Linked DNA regions of Homo sapiens: all the other regions are linked to region 1. The links are contacts of gene promoters, found by promoter capture Hi-C in blood cells and fetal thymus (Javierre and others, 2016). All regions are on one chromosome and are shown on one strand. The core of a region is centred on a gene start or on the middle of the fragment in contact, and the rest is flanking DNA. Distances in the headings are between cores, read along the strand shown.

What was found. Contacts are between HindIII fragments. The CHiCAGO score rates a contact against its expected background, and 5 or more counts as called.
Region 2: a contact is called between a fragment that was not itself captured here and the fragment with the promoter of DIMT1 in region 1, in 1 of 17 cell types (total CD8 T cells). The highest score is 5.4, in total CD8 T cells.
Region 3: a fragment that was not itself captured here is called in contact with the fragment with the promoter of DIMT1 in region 1 in 1 of 17 cell types (total CD4 T cells); the score reaches 5.8 in total CD4 T cells.
Region 4: a contact is called between a fragment that was not itself captured here and the fragment with the promoter of DIMT1 in region 1, in 5 of 17 cell types (non-activated CD4 T cells, total CD8 T cells, total B cells and 2 more). The highest score is 13.4, in non-activated CD4 T cells.
Region 5: a contact is called between a fragment that was not itself captured here and the fragment with the promoter of DIMT1 in region 1, in 1 of 17 cell types (naive CD8 T cells). The highest score is 8.0, in naive CD8 T cells.

The regions. Positions count from the first base shown.
Region 1 is chr5:62,402,540-62,407,310 of GRCh38, reverse strand. DIMT1 (DIM1 rRNA methyltransferase and ribosome maturation factor) reads left to right here and starts at 3,406. Exons shown (of 12, transcript NM_014473.4): 1 at 3,406-3,617; 2 at 3,965-4,038. The coding sequence starts at 3,539. RefSeq lists an enhancer at 3,196-3,485. The HindIII fragment of the contact is 1,140 bases long and covers 3,067-4,206 here.
Region 2 is chr5:65,038,060-65,042,543 of GRCh38, reverse strand. No RefSeq gene overlaps it. Among named protein-coding and RNA genes, the nearest start is that of CWC27, 270 kb to the right of the region's middle. RefSeq lists an enhancer at 4,388-4,484. The HindIII fragment of the contact is 8,098 bases long and covers 1-4,484 here.
Region 3 is chr5:64,758,456-64,762,888 of GRCh38, reverse strand. All of the region lies in intron 1 of SREK1IP1 (SREK1 interacting protein 1), which reads left to right. It overlaps LOC124900985 (a long non-coding RNA gene), which reads left to right. Exons shown (of 4, transcript XR_007058787.1): 3 at 3,409-3,522. Among named protein-coding and RNA genes, the nearest start is that of SREK1IP1, 8.0 kb to the left of the region's middle. The HindIII fragment of the contact is 2,935 bases long and covers 1,551-4,433 here.
Region 4 is chr5:64,774,623-64,779,259 of GRCh38, reverse strand. CWC27 (CWC27 spliceosome associated cyclophilin) reads right to left here. Exons shown (of 14, transcript NM_005869.4): 2 at 4,473-4,569. Among named protein-coding and RNA genes, the nearest start is that of CWC27, 8.0 kb to the right of the region's middle. The HindIII fragment of the contact is 662 bases long and covers 1,553-2,214 here.
Region 5 is chr5:65,101,550-65,105,976 of GRCh38, reverse strand. No RefSeq gene overlaps it. Among named protein-coding and RNA genes, the nearest start is that of CWC27, 330 kb to the right of the region's middle. RefSeq lists enhancers at 2,487-2,987, 2,988-3,488 and a silencer at 2,716-3,005. The HindIII fragment of the contact is 731 bases long and covers 1,234-1,964 here.

The DNA.
Region 1 (4,771 bases), core at 2,157-4,656:
GGATTACAGGTGCACACCACCATACCCAGCTAATGTTTGTATTTTTAGTAGAGACAGGGTTTCACTATGTTGACCAGGCTGGTTTCGAACTCCTGACCTCAAATGATCCACCCGCCTTGGCCTCCCAAAGTGCTGGGATTATAGGCGTGAGTCACCATGCCCAGCCACATATTTAGATCATTCTAAAGAATACATTCATAGAAGAATCTTGTTTATAGTATTCAGGATTCCTTCCTTCCTTCCTTCCTTCCTTCCTTCCTTCCTTCCTTCCTTCCTTCCTTCCTTCCTTCTTCCTTTCCTTCCTTCCTTCTTCCTTTCCTTCCTTCGCTCCCTCCCTCCCTCTTTTCTTTCTTTCTTTGAGACGGAGTCTTATTCTGTCACCTAGGCTGGAGTGCAGTGGAGCAAACTCAACTCACTGCAACGTCTGCCTCACTGCAACCCAGCCTGGGCCACTATTTTAAAAATATAACATTTGAAGCCAGGCACGGTAACTCATGCCTGTAATCCCTGCACTTTGGGAGGGCAAGGCGGGCAGACCACTTGAGGCCAGTTCAAGACCAGCATGGGCAACATGGTGAAAACCCATCTCTACTAAAAATACAAAAAAAAAAAAAAAAATTAGCCAGCGTGGTGGTGGTGCACGCCTGCAATCCCAGCTACTTGAGAGGCTGAGGCATGAGAATAGCTTGAATCTGGGAGGCTGAGGTTGCAGTGAGCCAAGATCATGGCACTGCACTGCAGCCTGGGTGACAGAGCAAGGCTCTATCTTAAAATATATATATATATATATATTTATATTTATATATGTTTATATTTATATTTAAATATATATATTTATATTATATATATGAGTTGTGTCTTTAACAGCAAACAAAAGTTAGCCAGGGGAAGGTCGAGAATGCAAAAGGAAGAGCACTCACAAAGCCGAGGTATAAAGATGTTTAAGGAAGAAAAAGGAACTTGATAACGTTGGGAAGTAAATAAGTAAGGTAAATAGGAACTTAATTTGAAAGGCCTACAATGCTATTCTAGGGAGCAATAGTGGTCATTCATTGATGAATCAAAAGAACAATTTTGCCTTCTCTGCTCTTGTCTCCAGGCTGTGGTTACACAGCAGTACACATTGGAGATACTGGGCTCCACATTTAGCTGGAAGACATGCCATGTCTTCTTGAGTTCCCTCTAATCTTCCTCTCCCATTGCGCATAAAGGATCTTCAAACCTTCTCCGCACTCATGCCCCTTGTCCTACCACCTCCACAGCTCCTTCTCTACAGAAAAACTTGCCTTTTATTTCACAGAAGAAATGCAACCTAGAGGCCAAAGCAGGCAGATCACTTGAGCTGAGAAGTTTGAGATCAGCCTGGGGAACAAAGTGAGACCCCGCCTCTACAAAAATTACAAAAATTAGCTGGACAAGATGATTCATGTCTGTCGTCTCAGCTACTCGGGAGGCTGAGGTGAGAGCATCGCTTGAGCCCGGCAGGCGGAGGTTGCAGTGAGCTGAGATCATGCCGCTGCACTCCAGCCTGGGTGACAGAGTGAGACCGTCTCAAAAAAACAAAACCAAAAAACCCAACAACAACAACAATAACAAATCACACACAGGGTTTTGTGTCATGTTAATTTTTTTTTTTTAAACAGGGTATCATGCTGTCGCCCAGGTTGGTGCAATCTTGGCTCACTACAAATTCTCGGGCTCAAGTGAGGCTCCCACCTCAGCTTCCCGAGTAGCTGAGACTACAGGCCTGCACCACCACGCCTGGCTAATTTTTGTATTTTTTGTAGAGACGGGGTCTCACTTTGTTGCCCAGGTTGATCTCAAACTTCTCAGCTCAAGTGATCCGCTCGCCTTGGCCTCTCAAAGTGCTGGGATTACAGGCATGAGCCACCTCTCCAGGCCATGTCCATCCTATTAACATTTGGAAGTGCCTAGCACAGTGTACTCTTTAGAATTGTGGAATAACAATGATTGATGAAATGAAACATATACTTGAAGATGCTACTAGGGTATACGAGATTTTTTTTCTGACTTAGAACTACATCAAAGAAAGAAGGGCCTAAGACCAAGGTTTGGGAATGTACACAATGAATTGCTCAAAAGAGAGTTAGCTTTAGTAATGACAGGAAGAAGCTATTTCTTCAACCAAACAGAATACACACAGAAAAATTTAAAAGAGCCATTACACTGGCTGGCAAAACAGATGTGGATATTATGGCCCTGGTACACACGGAGTTTATAGTCAGGTACACTGTCCTGTCACAACGACCAATACGTTATCGTATTTACAGCGTTTTGGAGTTTCTGTCCATCTCTGTCAATATAATACACTTTGAAATAAGTTTCTTACTTAGAATCCCTAGCAGTGTTTGATACACAGTTGGAGCTCAATAAATGTTTACGGAGTGAATGATGAGGCACAAAAGGAATTTGTTGAATTATTTGTTAAATGAATCAAATAATTTTCTAGGATTCACGGGCTGTCTTCTGCACGATAAGCTTCATTCTGTGGGTCTGAGTTTCTCCTGGTTCTCAATTCTGTCTTTTTGTGGATTATCTACTTTGTAGCTGGAGCTTTGTATCTGTTTAAGATAATTATTCTTCTATTCCTTTTTTTTTTTTTTTTTTTTTGAGACGGAGTCTCGCTCTGCCGCCCAGGCTGGAGTGCAGTAGCGCGATCTCGGCTCACTGCAACCTCCGCCTCCTGGGTTCACGCCACTCTCCTGCCTCAGTCTCCCAAGTAGCTGAGACTACAGGCGCCCACCACCACGCCCGGCTAATTTTTTGTATTTTTAGTAGAGACGGGGTTTCCCCGTGTTAGCCAGGATGGTCTCGATCTCCTGACCTTGTGATCCGCCCGCCTCTGCCTCCCAGAGTGCTGGGATTACAGGCGTGAGCCTCCGCGCCCGGCTCTTCTATTCTTAGTAGAAGCAACCAGTAGCCCTAGCGAAACCAGACGTTAATTCCATTCTCGCAGTTCTTTTCCCCAGGGCAAGCAGCAAAAAATGCATTCCCACAAAAGAGCAAGCTCATCCCCAAATCCCGGGTTTCCCACCCCCACAAGCTTCAGGAAAACAGGAGCGAGGCACGTGAATACTTCTTTGGACCTCAGCGATCCCAGAACCTAGGCTACTAAAACATCCATAGGCTTAACCTCATCATATAACTTAAACAGCCTTCGCAACACCGAGAGCACCACACCAACACCTTCTTATCCAGCCCTGGTTGGGACAAGGGCTCCAACTCCAGACTGCAGTCCTCGGTAGCGCGGTGTCTTCTGGGATCTGTAGGCTCCCGCGGTTCGGCCTTCCTCCCTCTGTGACTCCAATTCCCGGCAGTCAGTGGGCTCCAAGGTCCGCCCTTTTTCTGGAGGAGGAGCTCAGAGCGTACGGGAGGGGGCGGACCCTTGCCCCTCCGGCGCTTGGGCCAGAGTGGTGCGGGCGGCGCGTGGCGGCGATCCCCACGTGGTGGCTTTCTCACGCTAGCCCTCTTTGGTCCTCCTTGACGTCCCGGGCCTGTGGGCCCGCTTTCTGCCGAGATGCCGAAGGTCAAGTCGGGGGCCATCGGCCGCCGCCGCGGGCGGCAGGAGCAGCGCCGGGAGCTGAAGAGCGCTGGAGGTGCGGATCCCCGCGAGGAAGCTGGGGTCGGTCGGGTCAGGTCTTCCGGCAGGACCTAGCCTGGGGTGCGGACCAAGACCTGATCGGCAGAGGCCGGTCAGGACGCGCTCCCGTGAGCGCGGAAGGCAGGGGTGGGTCCCCGACTCGGCCGCAGGCCCTGCGCGTCGCCGCTGACTTCCTTTCCAGCTGGAGGATGAACTTATAAAGAGTTTGTCAGTCCTGGCGTGACGTTTCGTGGCCCTGGTTGGCGCAGAAATCTTCCCCATACCCATGCAGCTTTCTTCTCTGGTACTGCCTAATATCTAATCTCAGTAGGAAAATTAATGCTGTTTCGTATTTTCTTACAGGACTCATGTTCAACACGGGGATTGGGCAGCACATTTTGAAAAATCCTCTCATTATTAACAGCATTATCGATAAGGTGGGTGTGGAAGAGGAAAGGGAGAGAGTTGTTGGTTTATTAATTTTATTCCTATGAATACATAAGCGCAGAAAGTCTGCCTGCCGTAAATTAGATGCTCTGTAAATATTTGTTGAATGAATCAAATAATTGTCTAGGATTCTTGGGCTGTCTTCTGCATGATAAGCTTCATTTTGTGGGTCTGAGTTTCTCCTGGTTCCCAATTCTGTGTCTTTTTGTGGATTATCTACTTTATAGCTGGACCTTTGTATTTGTTCAAGATAATTATTCTTCTATTTCTAATCACCTTTTTGATCACTTAGTTTTTATGTACTCCATCTATTTATGTCTAAACTACACATTAGAAAGTTTGTTCCCCAGAAAAACATATAGTACTACATATAAATTATTTGGTGTATGCTAGTACCACATATAAATTGCTTGGAGTATTACTGCTTTCTGAGTTATTGATGTTCTCTTATGGTTATGGATGATTGGGTGTTAGGAAGTGAAATACACACGGTGCAGATTACACTTATGGTTAAAAGCAAGGAAAGCATCCTGGAGCTGTAGAAAGAGCATTACATAGTTAAAGGATCTTGTCAGGCTTCGTGTCATTTGAAAACTGAGAAAAAAAGAAAGAAGGGTCATGTACTATTTTAACCTTTTTAGCTCATAGTTTCCTTTGAGCATCTGATGAAAGCTATGGCCGTAGAATATTAGAGCTGTGTGCAGACATTCAATTTTGTGTACA
Region 2 (4,484 bases), core at 733-3,232, 2.6 Mb before region 1:
TTGAAGATTGAGAAATATTATATCAGACAATATTACTGTGTCGATGTTACATTTCTGGTATGTGAGAATGGTATGGCAGGAGAATGTCCTTGTGTGATGAATGGGTGTGTGTGTGTGTGTATACACATACGCCTTCCAAGTGGGAGAATTCAGTCTGCAATCCACACCACCCTGAAGGTGAGGCCTTCAAGGGAACTGGATTCAAGACTCTTGGGTAGCACCATGGATTGTCCTGTGGAAACCATTAGAATCTTCTAGGCTGGATATACCAGGATGGAGATGTGTACTACGTTAGGAAGAAGAAAAATGCTGGAGGTAGACAAACCCCCAAGGGATGAGGCCCTTGAGTCCTGAAGGTATCTAGGGATTCATTCCCACTATGGGACAGCAAGTCAACAGGTTAGGAGTTCGGGTGTGTTCCCTAAACTCGGTGGGGATTTTTTTCCCCCTTGTTGGATGACACAGTTTAAAATTCCTTTCTTCATATGCTATAATTCCCTTTGGTTCTCTCCAGCCCTTTATCAAGGTCAGACACACCCCTACAACTTTGTGTGTTGTTGACAAGAGAAAAGTGAGACCTGCCCTGTGTTCACAGCCCTCTGTGGAGCCCTTTGCAGGGGTAGCAGCATCACTCCAAGGGGTGGAGGTCACTGGGCTGCAGGCTGCATTTGCCAGGAGTTGAGTTATTGCCAGCTCCTGCCCCTTTAAGTGTCTCTGTCTCCTGGGCAGATATGAGCACTGTATTCAGAATTACTAATCTTTTCTGGGACCTTTTCTCTAAATTCCAAATCACATAAGGGGAAGTGGTGAGGATGAACCTTCCCCAAACCCCACATTTCTGTAGCTCTAGAGGATATTGACTCATGGTGGAGCATTTATTTCAAATAGAAAACAGCACAAACCAAAAGACTTGAGGAAGTACCTCCTCCCACTCTTGTTTCCAAATTCCATTCAGGTTTGGAACTTTTTGAACAATTTTTATTTTGAAACATGAAAAGGTGGAAGAATCCAGCCTCTTTCTGCTAAGAGTAGACATAAAGATAAGCATCTCTCCTCAAAGGTACAGGATTATGTTACCCTTCTGGAATCCTGGTAGCCAATTCAAGTTGTTTTTGAAGCACAATGCTACCCATGAGGCCCAAACCAAAAGAACCAGACATTCCAGATTGACTCAAATAATTCCATTTTTTAAATGTAATGTTCTGGCACCTCTGTGATGACCATATTTGTTCCAGTTTTCATCACACCCTGTGATATTGAATGGCAAGACCAAGAACAAAATGCTTCTTTGAATAACTCCGCTGCCTTCCTACCTTGAGGCTGTCAGGTATGGGATACAGTTTGTTGGGAATTAAAGGAAAACAAAATTTCCACTCAAGAATTGAATTCTTTCAACAAATATAAAGAGAGGAAAAATTGTTTTGTGGTTTATTGTGGGGAAGAGAACTCTTAGAAAAAACAATAGGAGGAAATTCTCAATAGAAACTATGGATCTTTGATGAACTTTTCATTTCTGCATGATTAGAGAATTATTAACAGCCAAAACAAAACCTATTTTCTTCTTACTGTGTCTTATCCAAGTATTTAGTAGGGAGAAAAATGACATTAGCGACTATTGAGCCATTTGATTCCCAAACACATAGTAACTTGGCTTTGAAGGCAAGTCACAATGCTTCTAGGAAACCCCAAGATGGGAAGATTAAACTCTTTTCATTCTCTTTGAACTATTTGGAAACATTCACAGCTTGGAGCTGGGATGTCCATTCTATTGTCCACGGAGTTAGCTGTGTTGTCTCTGACTCCACAAAACACGAGTTTCTAACTGAACTGGGAGAGAGTTCTCCTGTACTGTGTCTAGTCTGTGTAGGCCAGACTTTATCAGTTTTTGGTACTCTGTGATAATTACCCTTGCCAAACACACTTGTCAGAATTATTCCCTAAAACACACTTGATTAATGGGCTTATCAATACCATTATATCTTGAATAATGCATATTAGTCCCAGATGACTATCTTTTCAGTTAAAAAATGAATTTAAACAAAGTGTAAATGTAAACATATTTCCAACTCAGAGTTCCATTTCAACCACTGAAGCACATCCTAGCACTAAGTCCTTTATTATTTTTGACGTTTATGACTTTGTGTTTGTTGGAAACAAGTTTTCAGGTGGCTATATCTGTTTTTTTATATTTATGACTCTTTTGTACTTATTGGAAATAAACAAGTTCTCAGTCTTCTATCTGTAAAATAAAACAAGAACTGCTTCACAAGAATCTTAGGATAATTAAATAAGATGATAGACATAAAGTAGTGGTCATATAGTAAGTGTTCTATAAATATTATGACTTAATTCCTTTAGCTCTATGGTAGACATACAGAGATTTGGGGAGATGATTTAAGTATATTAATTTTTATCTTTTTTTTTTGAGATAGAAGTTTTCTCTTGTTGCCCAGGCTGGAGTGCAGTGGTGTGATCTCGACTCACTGCAACCTCTGCCTCCCAGATTCAAGCGATTCTCCTGCCTAAGTCTCCCTAGTAGCTGGGATTACAGGCATGCTCCACCACACCTGACTAATTTTTTTGTATTTTTAGTAGAGACGGGGTTTCACCATGTTGGCCAGGCTGGTCTCGAACTCCTGACCTCAGGTGATCCACCTGCCTCAGCCTCCCAAAGTGCTGGGATTACAGGCGTGAGCCACCGCACCCGGCCTCTATTTTGTAATTAATATATTTACTTTTCATTGTAAAACAAGGGATTTCTATAGCAATTCAGAGCTTAATTTTTGTCTGTTAGCTAACTTACAAAATTTAAGCCTTTCGCGATTTGCTTTCAAGGCCCTCTGCCCTTTGGGTCCTATTGTACACAACCCTTTTCATGCTCCCAATTCATCAGTCCCTGTCCTGTCCTTTCACACATTCCACAGTTTCTTGTATCATGTTTCCCCTATCTAAAAAACTTCTTTTCCATTTCCCTTTATTATAATCTCATTCTTCCTTTAAGGTCCAGTTCAATCATTCTTTTCTTCTACAAAGACACTTCTGATTTCCTTGGTCCAAAAATAATGTCTCCCTCATAGTCATTCTTATGAAATTGAGTATTTTTAAACAATTTCAAATTTAGAAGAGGGCAACATTTACAGAAAACTTGCAAAGATTGCACAGAGATTTCCCACGTACTCCTCAACAAGTTTCCCCCAATGTTCACATCTTATATTACTATGGTCTATTTGTCCCAACTAAGAATCTAATATTGGTATACACACTGAACGCTTGTAACTTACGTTGTAGCTGACTATTAACTGTAAAATCCTTGAAATCAGGCTGTGTGGCCCTTAGTTTACTCATTCTGTAATATGTACAAAGTCTTTGCTTACCATTGAGCACCAAGTGGGAACTAAAACAATGTTTGTTGAATGAAAGAACAATCACTCCCATTGCTTTAACTGTCTACCTCAACATAATCTCTGTTTAAGTGTTTTGTGTAAGTGGAACATAAATACAGAAAAATGTGACTATAAATGTAAAGCTCAGTGATTTTTCACAATCTGAACATACTCATGTAATTATCACCTGGATTTCAAATAGAACATTTCCTGCATCACAGAAGCCCCTCCATGTGCTCCTTCCAGTAACAACCACCCTCCATCTTGACTTCTTATGTTGCCTTTAGTTTTATTTCAGTAATGGGACACAGTGTCATGGTTCATGCTTATAATGTGACCCAGTTTTATACTGTTATCATGTCTGTGCAAAGTGGCTTGAATCTATTAAAAAATTCATGGCTTGATTAAAGGAAGTATAACGCAGTAGATTTTCCAATAGCCAAACAATGTCCATTGTCTTTGTAGTTTATATAGTTTCTGCATTAAAGCCTAGCTTACGGTTGGGTGTACCCACTTTGGACCGAAAGACAATTCCATTTCTGACAACATCATTGAGCCCAGTGTAGGAAGTAGGACATAAACCATTTTCATTTCTGTTCCCTTAGAAACACATGGAACAAAATAAAGTTTGCCAAATGGAAATATACAAAACCACTGGGGAAATAAATGTTATTTTTAACCTTCTAAGAGACTATCACAAATAACTGGGAGGAGAGTGGAAAGAATTCAAAAAGCAGATGACCTTTTAACAGGCAGAACATAGCAGGGTCAGCAAGTGTCTAGAGAATGTTGTGACTTGGAGAAGGGATGCTGGGAGCCCAAGCCTGGAGGAACTGATCTCACCGGTTATGATGAGAATGGAGCTAGCTTCTTCCCAATCCTATGTGAACTGGATGGCTAGAAGGGAACCTTCCTCCAGTAATGGAAACAGTGAGAATCCTTGGGTACTAAACAAAGGAGTAGATTTGGAGATCTAGGAGCTAGTGGGTTTGTGGCTGGCAGCCAGGTCTGGAGTGTTGCTTTCAGGATGCCGGGTTTTCTCTACTCTTTGAGCAAATCTCACCCTATGGAGACACAGTCACCTGCATTCTAGGTGGAGAC
Region 3 (4,433 bases), core at 1,769-4,268, 2.4 Mb before region 1:
GTAGAGATGGAGTTTCACCATATTGCCCAGGTTGGTCTTGAACTCCTGGCCTCAAGTGATCCACCCACCTCAGCCTCCCAAAGTGCTGAGATTACAGGTGTGAGCCACCACACCTGGCCTATGAAGGCATTTTTAATGGACTATTAAGACATCTGCTATTTCAGAATACTTGCATTGAGAAACTCATTTAGCCTATTTTTTAAATTATCTTATTAATTAACGAAGTATTAATGTTTTAGTAAAAAATGACTAATTTCTACTGCTTTGTCTACTTTGACTTTAGTACAGTATTTGGGGTCCCAAAGAAAGGAGTGTGTCTATGAATTTTTAATATAAATGGTAGAAAAATAAAATACTTGGAATTTTACTTTGCATCAACTTAAGCAGAACATATATATTATATAAATAGATATTACCACTTATAAAATATGGCTGCAGTTTGAATTTTAAAAGCAGAAGTAATTGAAATTGTCTTTATAGGTTCCCCGATTGTAACTAAAACCATAATGGAGTAACCAAATATAAAACTTGTTACTAAACAAAATTAATCTAATTGACTCTAATCCAATTAAAAATGAAAAGAATGGGTCCTGTGACAGAAGTAATTGCAATTTCTAATTACTTAGTACTAAAAAACTTAGTTACTTAAGCTGTATATGTTTAAATTTAAGCGATTCTAGGAAATATTTTAATGTAATGAAAATGTCAGGCTTCCCTAAATTCCAAAATAGACAATAGGAAAAATATATTAAGTTCTAAGCATCACTGTTAAAATTCCCAGTGACTAAGTTGTTGCCTTTGGAAAGATAGGTGATGTAAAATTTCAAGGAAATAAATTTAAATCGAATATGACATTCCTTTGCGGACCACTGACCAACCTGAAGCAAGTGTTGAGGACTCGCCATCTTTCTCTCAATTTTTCTCAGTCCTTTTATTTTTGTCCCTTCTTTTTGGTTTTCTCAATATTTTCTGTTTCTTCGTTGTCTACTGTTAACTTTAAAATTTTTTTTCTTTTGTGCTAACTGCTAAGACATAATTTACATGTTTTAAAAACAGCACAGATCACAAATGTTTGGCTTGAAGAATTTTGACAAATAAATTGAGTGTGTGTGTATACGCACACGCGTATTTCTTAGCTGGCAACTGGGGTCTAGAGAAGTTGCCAGTTTCCAACTTCTGAAGTATAGTCATGCACCACAAAATGATGTTTTGGTCAATAACTGACTGCATATACAATGGTGGTCCCATAAGATTATAATACTCTTATTTTTACTGTACCTTTTCAATGTTTAGGTATGTTTAGATACACAAGTACTCACCATTGTGTTACAACTGCTTGTAGTATCAATACAGTGACATACGGTACAAGTTTGTAGCTTAGGAGCAGTAGGCTATACCATATAGCCTAGGTGTATAGCAGGCTATATCACCCAGATTTATGTACACCATGATGTTGCCACAAGGACAAAATTTCTGTGTTGTGCCTAACAACACATTTCTCAGAATGTATCCCTGTCATTAAATGAAACATGACTGTATTTTCTTAAGCTTATAACCTCAAATCAATAAGTATTTGTTGAGCACCTCTTAGCAACTCTCCATCATGGTAAGCACTGAGTTGGATTCAAAATTATATGGCTACTTTAAGTTACTGGAAGAAAAAGGACCAGCCCAATTACCTGATTCCTCCCACTATCACCCAAGTTGTTTAACAGAATACTAGATTCAGAGTAAGCCCTTAATATTTAGCAAGTATAAGAATGAAGACTCTGACATCATGAATTAATAAAATTTTATTGAAAGTCTGCAATGTAACCTCTCTGAAGAATTTACAAATGCAATAATTGCCTTTTGTCAGATAATGTTTACTTGACAGTTACTTTTCTTAGTGTTACAGTTTTGTTTGTTTGAGGGAGATTTTCCAGATTGGTTTTTGAAAGGGTAATTTAATCACCTTTCACATTTTAAAACTGCCAAAAGGTATATAGTGACATGTCTCTTACTCAAGTCCTTCTCTGTCTGGACTTAGTTTTCTTTCTTCAAGTAACCAATCTATATCCTTACAGAGGTATGTCTAATATCTTCTGTAAGAATTAAAGAAAGAGGTAAGAAACATGAAAAGATGGCTCGCCAGTCAGGACAGATTTATTTAGAGAAAACAAACGTGAGAGGTGCCTTCTGGCCAAGTTAGGTCAGAGGCACACTCACTTACAAACTAAGAGTTTTTAAAGATTCAGGGTGGGAGAGTTTATCAGAGGCTTGGACTGCTTCTCTGACTCTTTGTTGTGCTTATCTGGGAGGGAGAGTTGTGTGTCTGTTCCCATACATCTTTCTGCAGCTGCAGGCCTATCAGTCTGCATGTAGCTTTTCTATCCTAGTGCACCTGAAGGGAAAGGAATGTGCTTATTAAGGCCCACTATTTTACTGGGGCCCATTGTATGAGGGTGAAGTTTGGCAGTTGCTCAAGAGACTTTCCCCCCACCTCCCTTTGTGCCCAGCTGTCTTATCTGTATGTTATTGTCTGTTCTTTCTGGCTGCTTACAATTAGAAGAGAAGTAATTTCCTTGAAATGCATGAGGCTAGAAAGGGAGCTGGAATTTAAAGTGGTGGTGTTTGTCCCAGATGACAGTGCTCCTGCTCTATCATCTTCTTTTTTTTATACGAATGGCAGCATGCCATAAACACTGTTCTGCACCTTGCTTTTTTTCTTTTTACAGTATATCTTAGCGATCATGACATCATTAAATAAAAACCATCCCCATTATTTCATACCGTAATTGATTTAGCCAGTTCCGTATTGATATTTAAATTATTTCTACTCTGTCCCTATTAAAAACAATGCTATAGTGAATAACATTGTACATAAGTCAGTATGCATTTGTGCACATAAATTGGGAGAACTAATTCCCAAATGTGAGATTGTTGTGTCAGAGAGGTATGTACACTTGTAATTCTGACAGGTTTTGTCAGCCTGCTTTCCATAAGAGATAGTACTAATTTATGCTCCTGCCAGCAATGTATGAGAGTATGCCCCCCTACACTTCCTTCAACCTTTCAATCTTTGCGATTCTGATAAGTGAAAATGGAATCCCAGTATAGTTTTTAGTGTACATTTTACCTGTTTTAAGTAAGACTGAGCATATCTCCACATGTTTGAGAGTCATTTCTATTTCCGTTTCTGTGAACATCCTTTGCCCATTTTTTTCCTGTTGGTTACTGATCTTTTTCTTAATGATTTGCTGAGATATATACATAGGGATAATTGCTCTTTTTTGGTCCTATGAGGCGCAAATATTTTTTCCTCAAGTTTCCACGTGTCTTTTGAGTTTGCTTTTGGTGGTTTTTGCCATTCAGTTTTTTTCCAATGTCAAATTTATAAGTTTTTATATAATGCCTTTTGGATTGCAGGTCATGATTAGAAAGGAAAATTTTGAGGTGGGCACACTGTATTACTCTGAACAGCCTTAGCAAACTTCAAAAAGGAATGGAGCCAAGAACTGCACGGGAGCCCAAGGCAGGGAAGTAGGTAACTTAGCTGAGTAAGGACCTCACAATATAGCTCTACTATAGTCACTTTGACATGGATTTTGAGTACCGTTATATCAGCCAGGGTTCTTATTCCAAACGATAGAAACTGACTAGTTAACTTAAGCAGAAAAGGAAAGATATCAGCTAGCTCAGTGAATCTAAGCAAAGCCTGCATAATAAGGGTCAGAAAATAGAAATGACCCAGGGAACCCATATCCAAGATCCTGCACAAGCCCAAACCTGGTTAGGGCTGCTACTGCCAGTGACATCAGTGCCCCTGGAAACTGGATCCTGACAGCAGAATGAATTAACTTTCCCCACTTTATTGTGTCACTTGCCTCAGATCTATTAAGTCAGTTGCCTCAGATTCAAACTCTTGGGTAGAAGCATTCAGTTGCCCAGACAATCACGAAAATTAAAGACTAATGAAGCTGAAATAATAATTTAACCAAAGACTGGTGAGGAACTAGCTGATGTAAAGTACTTTATTTAGAGTTCTGGTTATATTTCCCTGTCATGTAAAAGTTTCAACTTTAGTAAAGATGATGATCTGCCAAGAAAAAGTTTCATAGTTTGTTTACTCTAAAACTGTGGGATACTTGAGTGATGAATTTATCAGTGCCTTTTGTCATGAGTTCAATTCTAATACATGCAGAGATAAGATTATTTCAGATCTATTACAACATTTTTATTCTGTTGTAGTAATAGTAATGATGCATTTAGCATAATTTTATTCAGTATTTTTTTAGCATCTACAGTTTCTATGGAAACAGATTTAACGCTGACCCCAATTCTCTGAGCTTTTCTCAACATGCAGTTGTTTTCAAAATGAAAGACCCTCAGATTATATTATTCATTTGATTTTATTCCAGTCAAATTCTGCTACAACATATTTGTTTTTAACT
Region 4 (4,637 bases), core at 634-3,133, 2.4 Mb before region 1:
ACAGTTCCCTAAAGATTTCACTGAGCTTCCCTAAAGATTTCACCAGATTTCTTGACATACAGGAGGATAAATGTCTTTATTATTTAAATCATTTTGAGTTGGGTCTTCTATTACCTGCAACTGAATACAACCTGAATATAACTCATTCAATGAAAAATATTTATCAAGTATCTACTGTGGGCCAGGCATTTTACTGATACAGTTACTGACATAATTTATAAAGTTCCTATTTTAGTGTCTTGGAGACACCCTCATAATTATTTATATTTGCAAAGTATAACTGGATATACAATGCATATTTTAAAAATTATAATCTGTATTCTAACAACTGTATTTAGTACACAGTACATAAGAAGTAGAAAGGAAGACCAGCTGATTTTTGCTTAGTCCCTTCTCCCATTGCAGGGCAGTTGGGCTGCATTTACAAGAGCTCCCTAGTGCAGACAAATTCCCTCTGGTTACAAATAGATACTATAAAAACCAAAAGGTCTTAAAGTATCTCTCCTATATTCCTAGGTAACCATTTCATCAGTTACACTAACACTGTATGTAGCAGTCAGGAGTTTGAGTCTTGCCTTTTGCTAGCTATACAGTCTTAAACTCCATTTTCTCATAAATCTAATAACATAAATTAAGGCACAGTGTCAATCTGAAGATTAAATAATATGAAAGCAAACTACACATTTTCAAGTTCAACACAAATGTGAGGTCAAACTAATATCTTCACTCAAATGCTACAAATTCATATTCAAATTTGAATATAAAATATACCCCAGTATATATCATATAATGAATATTCATCTAGACCCATAATAAGCAGCCAACCAATACTTTTTGAGCACTGTGCACATGATCAGATTTGCATTTTCAAAATGTCACTCTTACCCAGTGTGAATATATTAGAAAGAGACATGACTGGAGAGAGAGGGGGAGTGAGAGAGAGAGAGAGAAAGAAAGCAAGAGACAGCGCAAGTGCATGCGACAGAGAGCCAGTGAGAGAATGCAAGCAAGCAACTACTATCCTGAGGTCATTACATAACTATGGCTTATCTTGAGATACACAGATTCAAGAACTACTTATGAAGCAAGATCCATAAAACCCAGATATATGTTACCTGTGACGGAAAAAGGACATGAAAGAGGTCTTTATTACTTGTGTTTTCAAATTTTAGAATTTCACCATTTTCTTTCTTTTTCCTATTTCCCATTAAGTATTTCAGTGATGCTGGCTTTTTATTTTAAGATTTTCTTTATGATTTTCCTAGTTATATTCCTGTTGAATGCATGAAATTATTATACTATATATAAATGAGTAAAAATTTTCTATACTCTCTACACTATAACTTTGTATTCTAACATAGCTGGAATTTCCAATGTCCACAAATCTTCCATATCTACTATTTCTACTTCTTTGTAATTTATTAGTAATCACTATTGAACTATGCATTTATAGTTGTATTTATAGTTTATAATACTGTATATTTTGCTGCTTGCAATGTTTATTTGATTTTCTTAAATTTTTATGCATCATCACAAGTGTTTTGAAAAAGCTTTATTATTTCATTATGCACGTTCATAATATCCTCCTGAATGTTCTCCACTATTGAAAAAAGATACCTAAATGTATCTTAAATATGAAACAAAGTTCCTATTTGATTGCTGTCATTCTAGTATTTGTCACATGGTTTCTATTTCTGGCTACAATAATCTATGGGCATTATCATATATTTTGACTAATTATATTTCTTGCCCAAGTTCATAGAGGAATTTATACTTGCACTTTAAAGTAGTTATACGTTTCTTCTTCTAGAATCCTGTTTTGTGTTTAACTATGTAAATGTTATCATTAATAACTTTTTATCTAACACTCATCTTGCGACCAGTCTGCACTATCTGGTATTTTTTTAAACAAATATTTTAGTTTTGTAAAGAAATTTCTTTTAACTTATAGCATATTTATGCTTATATTTGTCACTCTAAAGAATTAGTAAACTATTATTAAAGAATAAAAGATAAGCAATGAAGTGTGGACCATGATGAGACAAGAATGATGTGAAATAAAGGTGAAGAGATTAGTAGTCACACAATGTATTAAACATTTTGATTTTCTTATCCACTTCTCCCTCTGCTCCCCACTTGTCTATAAAACAAACATAAAATTATACTCCTTCCTCACACTGGAGGAACTAATGAAATTATCAAAGCTAATAAGCTTCCCTTTCATTCCTTTATATCTTTTTTGCTCTATTTTTTAATTGATAAGTTTTTAAAAGTTCCACTCATTTTAAATGTCCACCTAACTATGCTGCAAAGACCAAAAATCTAAGATTAAGTCTGTATAATGTAGATCCTTTGGTTTTTTAAAGGCTATAAACCATCCTTTGGCTATGAACATCATTTTAGTTGAGGGCCATATCTGAGACTGCGCTCTTACTTGTTCATGTTTTATTCATTTGCTTTTAAATTCTGGAAACCATGCTTTAAAAAAATAAATATGAGTGTTTCAAGATCTAGAAACATTATGACTCGTCTAAATCATAGAAGCAAAGAACTAAAATGGGGTTTTCTGGATTATATTTTTGAAACCTTGACTTAACTTATTTAGGAGTATCCTTGTTTAAATCAGTCTTCTTAGGCTTCATGTTAGCCTTTCCAATAATAATTCTATCTCTATTCAATTAAGAGGATTGGTGAATTTGATTAAGATAATTGTTGTGGTTATTTTTAAAATTATTTTTCTATTCTTTCTTCTTTCTCCTTGCATTATTATAAATAGGGGAATAATTGTTGTAATAATTGAGTTTTATCATCACCCAACTTAAGAACCTCATTTCTTCTTCACTGTCACATTGTATCCAGATGTTTTCTGCTTCTTCCATTCACCTGGTCATGGATTGCAATTTACCATTCATTCTTTCTAATGTTTTTGTAATTTTACTCTCCTTCTGTAAAACTTGAGCTTTTGAATCTTCAAAACTTCTTACCAGAAACAAGTCTGACTTTTTCATGTCTCCTGTGTTTCTCAACTTGGTTAACAGATATTTGAGGCCTCTCTGACTGAACTACCTACCTGACTCTATTTCCTTCCTGCCTGCCACAGCAATTATTAATAATGGTCTTTGCAGATGTCCTTTCATTCTCTCTCTCTCTCTCTCTCTCTCTCTCTCTCTCTCTCTCTCTCTCTCTCTCTCGCTCCACTCCTCCCCACCTCTCTCTTTTGGAGAGGGGGTGGTATCTGGGTATTTTTCATTTCTTAAATCTTCACCTGATAATTACGTCTATTTAGAGAGATCTCATCATACCATACTACTGGATTCTCTTTCACACCTTGCTTCTGACCCAAAATGTTGTTTTCTGATACCTTGAATAAAACTGTCTCTAAAAATCAAATATAACTTAGAAGAACAATGATTTGCCACCGCTGGAGATATTCCAAACCATATGTAATGTATTCTAGAAGCCAACAAAAAGCTCTAAAAATGGAAGGTTTACTTCCCTAAGAGAATACTCTGCAGGGAAAAACACTTCAGTGGATGTATAATTCTGCAGCATTTTAAAAAAAGAAAAATAGTTACTTTATGACTCAAATCTAAAAAAACTAGAGACATTGATAATAATATCACTGGATGCTAGCTGGAAGGCTGTGTGGAGAAACTAGAATTTTGAACAGACATTTAAAAATGGGTAGACTTAAACAGTAAAAAAAGGGAAGAAAAAGCATACCAAAAGAAGGGGAACTAGTATGAGGACATGTATGAAAGTGGAAACGGAAAGGAAATGCTTAGGAAATAATGTCCAACTAAAACCATGTGGTTAGTGCAATGAGCTAGAAAGTTGGATAGCTAGGAAGCCAAGCTGCCTGAGGATTCAAATACCATATAAACAAGGAAGAGAGAAAAGAAATTAAGGATGAAAGACAGGAAGGGGAGCAGGCAAGAGGCAATTACAGTCATACAGGTGAAAGGCAGACTGGGGAAGAAATTGGTAAATTTGGTTTTACACTGGTTTTGTTATAGCTAACAGTGGAAGGCTCCAGTTGAAAAGTCCACTAGGCAATTAGATATGTAAATTAGTACTAGGAAGAGAAGAAATGACTGAAGTTCTTAATGTGGTAGTCATTTGGACTGAAGTAACAACTAGAGAGTGATGACAATAGAGAACTAGAGGCAATCTTAGGGAATACCCAAATTTAGAGAATGAAAGGAAGAAGCGTAAGATAGCAAAGAAGACCAAAGAGGATCACAGTATTATTTGTTGAGATAAACTGCTCTGTTGAAAGTATTCAAATTTATTTGGGATAACATTTATCTCTTATCTCTACTTCCGGACACCCAGCTCAATACCATATCCTCATAGCAACACCTGTCATTCATGACCACTATTTAACACTAGTCTTCAATGTTGTGAAGCAGACACTGCAGTTTATTTTTAAATTAACAAGAATTTCTCCAGTAGAATAAAAGTCAACATACCTTCCAAACAAAGTTGGATAAAATTTCTGCAAGCTTTAGGAGCTTCTTTGGACCACAACTCTATGTCAATATCTCCAGCTGTAGTTTTCAATAAAACCTGTAGAAAGAATATTACATTTTATTAAATTATTATTTTGCTTAATAATCAGTTGAATAACTATTTGA
Region 5 (4,427 bases), core at 350-2,849, 2.7 Mb before region 1:
GGCCTGGTAGGGTACATGGCCTGTTGGTGGCTCTGAGATCACATCTCTACAGCTTCTAACTAAAGGAGACATTTTGTCTCTGATTCAGAATAGATTCAGAATACAAGTTCCCAGGAAATGCTGGGATTGGCTGGGCTCGGATCATGTGCTAATGTCTGGACTCAATTCTGTGGCCAAAGTACCTCTCCCCTTGGAGAGATAAGAGCATTGTCTAAGGGACATGGTCACCCCAATGGTCAAGGAAGTAAGGTCTGTTACCAGGAAGGCTGTAGGAAGATGCCGGCAGTCCCGGGCAGACACAAAAGCACTCTGGATATTCAGGTGATAGAATTGACACAAAAGCACTTCAGATATTCTGGTGGTAGAATTAACTGAATTTGGTGATTGACTGATTGTGGGGGAAAGGCAGCAATGAGCCAAGGATGACACTTAGATTTCTAGCTTGGGCAAATAGGAGGATGTGGGAGCCATTCTCTGAGACAGGAAACACAAGAATAGAAAGAGATGGTTTGAAAGAGAAAGTGAGTTCAGATTTGTACCATAGGAGTGCTGAAGAGCACATGGGACGGCCAATTTGAGATGCCCAATAAGGGCCTGATGCACAGAAGAAACAGCCAAGCTGGACAGAGATTTGGGAATCATCAGCACTGGCAGGGTCACTGCAGCCCCCGATTGGATGTGATCTTCCAGGAAGAATGGAGAGTGAGAAAAGAGGAGGAACTCTGGGGGCACCAACATCCAAAGGAAGATCAGAGAAAACTAAGAAGTAGCAAGAGAGAGGAAGAAACCAGGAAAGAATCCTATTATTGTGTGAATTATGGTTCATAATGGTTATGAAAGCTAGCACGGAGAATTAAAAAGTGATGGGAAGTGGAAGGGAGAGGACATGCCCTCTAGTTTCTAAGAAGCTCACAATCTGTAAGACCAGATAAGATCAGAATACATCAGCTAACAATGCAAGTAATGTATGACAGGTACCAACATGAGTTCTAGGAGGAGGAAGACAGCAGGAGCATTATGGATTGGGGTAGCCAGGGGAAGTAGGATATAAGTAGACCCTAAAAAGTGGGTAAGACTTGAATAGCTGGACACTGGGATTGGAGAGAGGAAATTCGGGTTAGAGGAATTTCAGGTTGGAGGAATTTCACGCGCAAAGGAGGAACTACACCAGGAGCACTCAGGAGATGTGCTTATGTTGGGGACTGATGACAGATTATTTTAGGAGGGTAAGCTTGGCCAGATGGAGAGGGCTTTGAATGCCAGGCAAAAACACCTGGTAATAAACTTTAGTTAGTAGGCAGCCTTCAAAGGTTTCAGATACTCCCTAAAAGAAACTGACTTGTGTTATTTTCTTACCCCTTCAAAGCATCCCTGTGAGACCAGTCCCTGTTATCTAAACGTATTTTTCTCCTATCATGTCGTGTCTTCCTTTGTTGACTTTATTTCTAAAAATATTAGGTGTGACTCTGACACTTTTGGTATCTGGGACTGCTCAGCAGCTTTCTCTAGCAGGTAGTTAAGTTTTCTTTTCTTCTACCCTATTACTTCCAGTTCCATCCCTCAGGGACCATGAGAAACAATTCCACTTCTCCTTATGTTTATATTCGGAGGATGCTTATAGAGTTTCCACATTCCCTGTGCTTTGAGCTCAGCCAAGGTATACATACTTAATTCTTTTAATCTCTCCCCCTAAGTCACTCCCTGTGGCCCCTTAAGCATCCTAATTGCTCTTCTCTGAAAGGCAGCCAGCTCATTATGTGCATCTTCCTTGGGAGGCAATGAGGAACATAGTATTCCCCGTGTGGTCTCACTAGACTCATATATTACCTCCCAGTTGCATCCCACGACTGGACATGTGGAGCCGCACTCCTTCTGCTCCCCGCTCCCTACAGTGCGCCCTGGCCTCAGTAAATCCCTTATCTCAACAGGTTATCTCCCATTTCCAGGTGGCCTGTTCCAAAGCTTGGAACCTGTGTTCACCACATGTTCAACCCCCAGCTCCCGCCTCAGGAGGTCTCTTACTGGGGAAGGTGGCCCGGAACCAGGACGAGTATCTGTGGAAAATTGCAGCTAAGCTTGCGTAAGTAAACCTTGGAAGAGGAGAGGCTGCGGAGTGCCCAGAATTAAGAGATGCCGCATCCTGCCATGAGCTCCCCGGCCTGCCCGGCTGTGACAGTATTCAACAAGGTGCAACTTGGAGGCTTCGCCTCTGTTTCCAATTATCCCTTTTATCTCTGCTCTAGCCCCTCTCCTTACCTAAGTGTTTTCATAGCTCTCAGTCATTACTGTTTAGCTTTGTGAGGATAAACGTGAAACCAAACAAATTATACATATCCTGTCTCAAGATGTGTTATCACCCTCTGACTAGAAACCCCCAGAAGCCTGCGGCTTTTGAAAGTTCTAGGTTTTTTTTTAAGCTTTGAAAAAAAAATGGTGGCAGAGGTTAAACTGCCTTTGAGAACGCCAAATGTTTGGATTTCAGTGAAGGTTGACATGGAAACCCACCTGAGGCTTCCTCGAGTGTCTCGGGAGGTAATAAAACCCGAGCTGGATGCTCCTGCTGCTGGGGGAGGAACAGCTCCCAGGGCGGCCAGGTGGGGGCGGCGGGGCCTGAGGAAGCTGCCCGGGGCCGCACAAAAGGGAAATCGAGGAGAGGAAGCCAAAAGCCAGAAAGGGCACGACGGGGGCGTGGGTGCGGGTGTCCGGGGAGACCTCGGCCGTCCCAGAACTTTCCAGGGCCCGGGGACCTGCGCCGCCCCGACTGGAAAGTTGGTGTTTTTACTCGAAGCCCTTTCTCTGGGCAGTTTAATAACAAACAGCGGCCGCAGCAATGGCGTCCGCGCCGGCAGCGTCGGGGCGCCCGGAGGCGGGGCGCGGCGGGGCGGGACTCTCCTCCCGCTCGGGCCCGGGGCGACCGGCGCACCCCACAGCCGCTCCCGGCGGCCGCCGAGGCGAGGGGCGGCAGAGAAAGGTCGGGAGCACTGAAGCACCGGGGTTGCCGGAGGCGAGGGCACCCAAGTTTATGCAGCTTGGGGTGGACGCTCGACTGCTGAGCTGCAAATACACAGAAAGCTTTGCCCACCGCTCGCCCCGTAGGTTCATCGCTTTATTCCCATCTACACCCAGGCACAGGAGAACTAAAGTGAAGAGAATTATCTTATGTTGGTTTCTTGGGGAGGAGGCGTGTGGAGGGGAGAGAGCCCTCCGGGAGAGACGAGGGAGAAAGGCAGAGGGAACCCATAGGGAGAGGAAGCAGGACGCCAGTGCTGCTTCCTAACACCTCTCTTTGTCTCCATTCAACACGGATTCCTCCCCATGGTGGGCCAGCCTTAGAGGACACATTCGTCTTTGCCCCCAAGGCCACCACAGACTCTGTGTTTCTACCCTGAGTACTAGAGGATGCCCTAGAAAAGAAATCTTGAGGACCTCTCTCTTTGAGACTTTGAGGGCCTCCACCTTCCAGCCACTGTTTCGTCCAAATCTGGGTTATCCATTCAGTAAAGGGTTGCCAGCTGAAATACAGCACACTGAGTTCCATATGAATATCAGATAGACAACGACAAATTTTGAGCATGAGTATGACCCACACAAAAATTCGTGTGCGTTTGTTTTATTAACTCTAGCAATCCTAATTCAGTACGTATTTCTGATTCTTCTTCAATTCCCGTCCAGACAGCAACCCTCTGAGACAGGAAGGGAGCGTGCTCTCACCAGGCACCATTTCCTGCCTCTCCCTCGGTCCCCTCTAAAATTGGTAAACCTCAGGTGTTTTCTAGGGAAGTCCCACCGTAAGTGGAGAAAGAATAAAGATGGGAGTAGAGATCAGGGGTGAAGTAGTTTAAGGTCACCTAACCAAAAATTGGAAATTTCAAACGCAAGAGCTGAGTTCTCCTTTATTGGAGGAATTAACAAGATGTGCTGTGAACATAAGAGTTAAATAGTAGTCGCCTTTTGTAAGCAACTCTAACAGAGGTTTACATTTGGGATTAATAGTAAACTCCCCAGGCCTTACTGACAGAAGAATGTAGTTGCCCAAATAAACAATGTTTTGATCGGGACTCGAGACCAACCCTCCGAGCACTCAGCCTCTTCCTAGCAGGAGCATTTCCCAACTCTGAAGTAATTTGTAATGTGCTGGGAAAACATTTTCAAAAAATGGATATCTAAGATACCATAAAAGGGAAAACAGTTCTCGCTTTTGAAGTAAGAAATACCATTTGCAGTAAAATTTCTTCCGTTTGCATTTCTGAATTATGTCTTGATAAAGCTAGGCTTACAGTGCCCGAGTGCTGCCTCCGACCTAGTAAGGAAGAGTCTAATGGAACAGTGTGGGTCTGGGGTTTACTGTCCTCTAAATATTATACTGTCTTCTTGGTACATAAAAATAAGAATACCTCCCAATGATGGGATTACTGTAACTGGCCTTT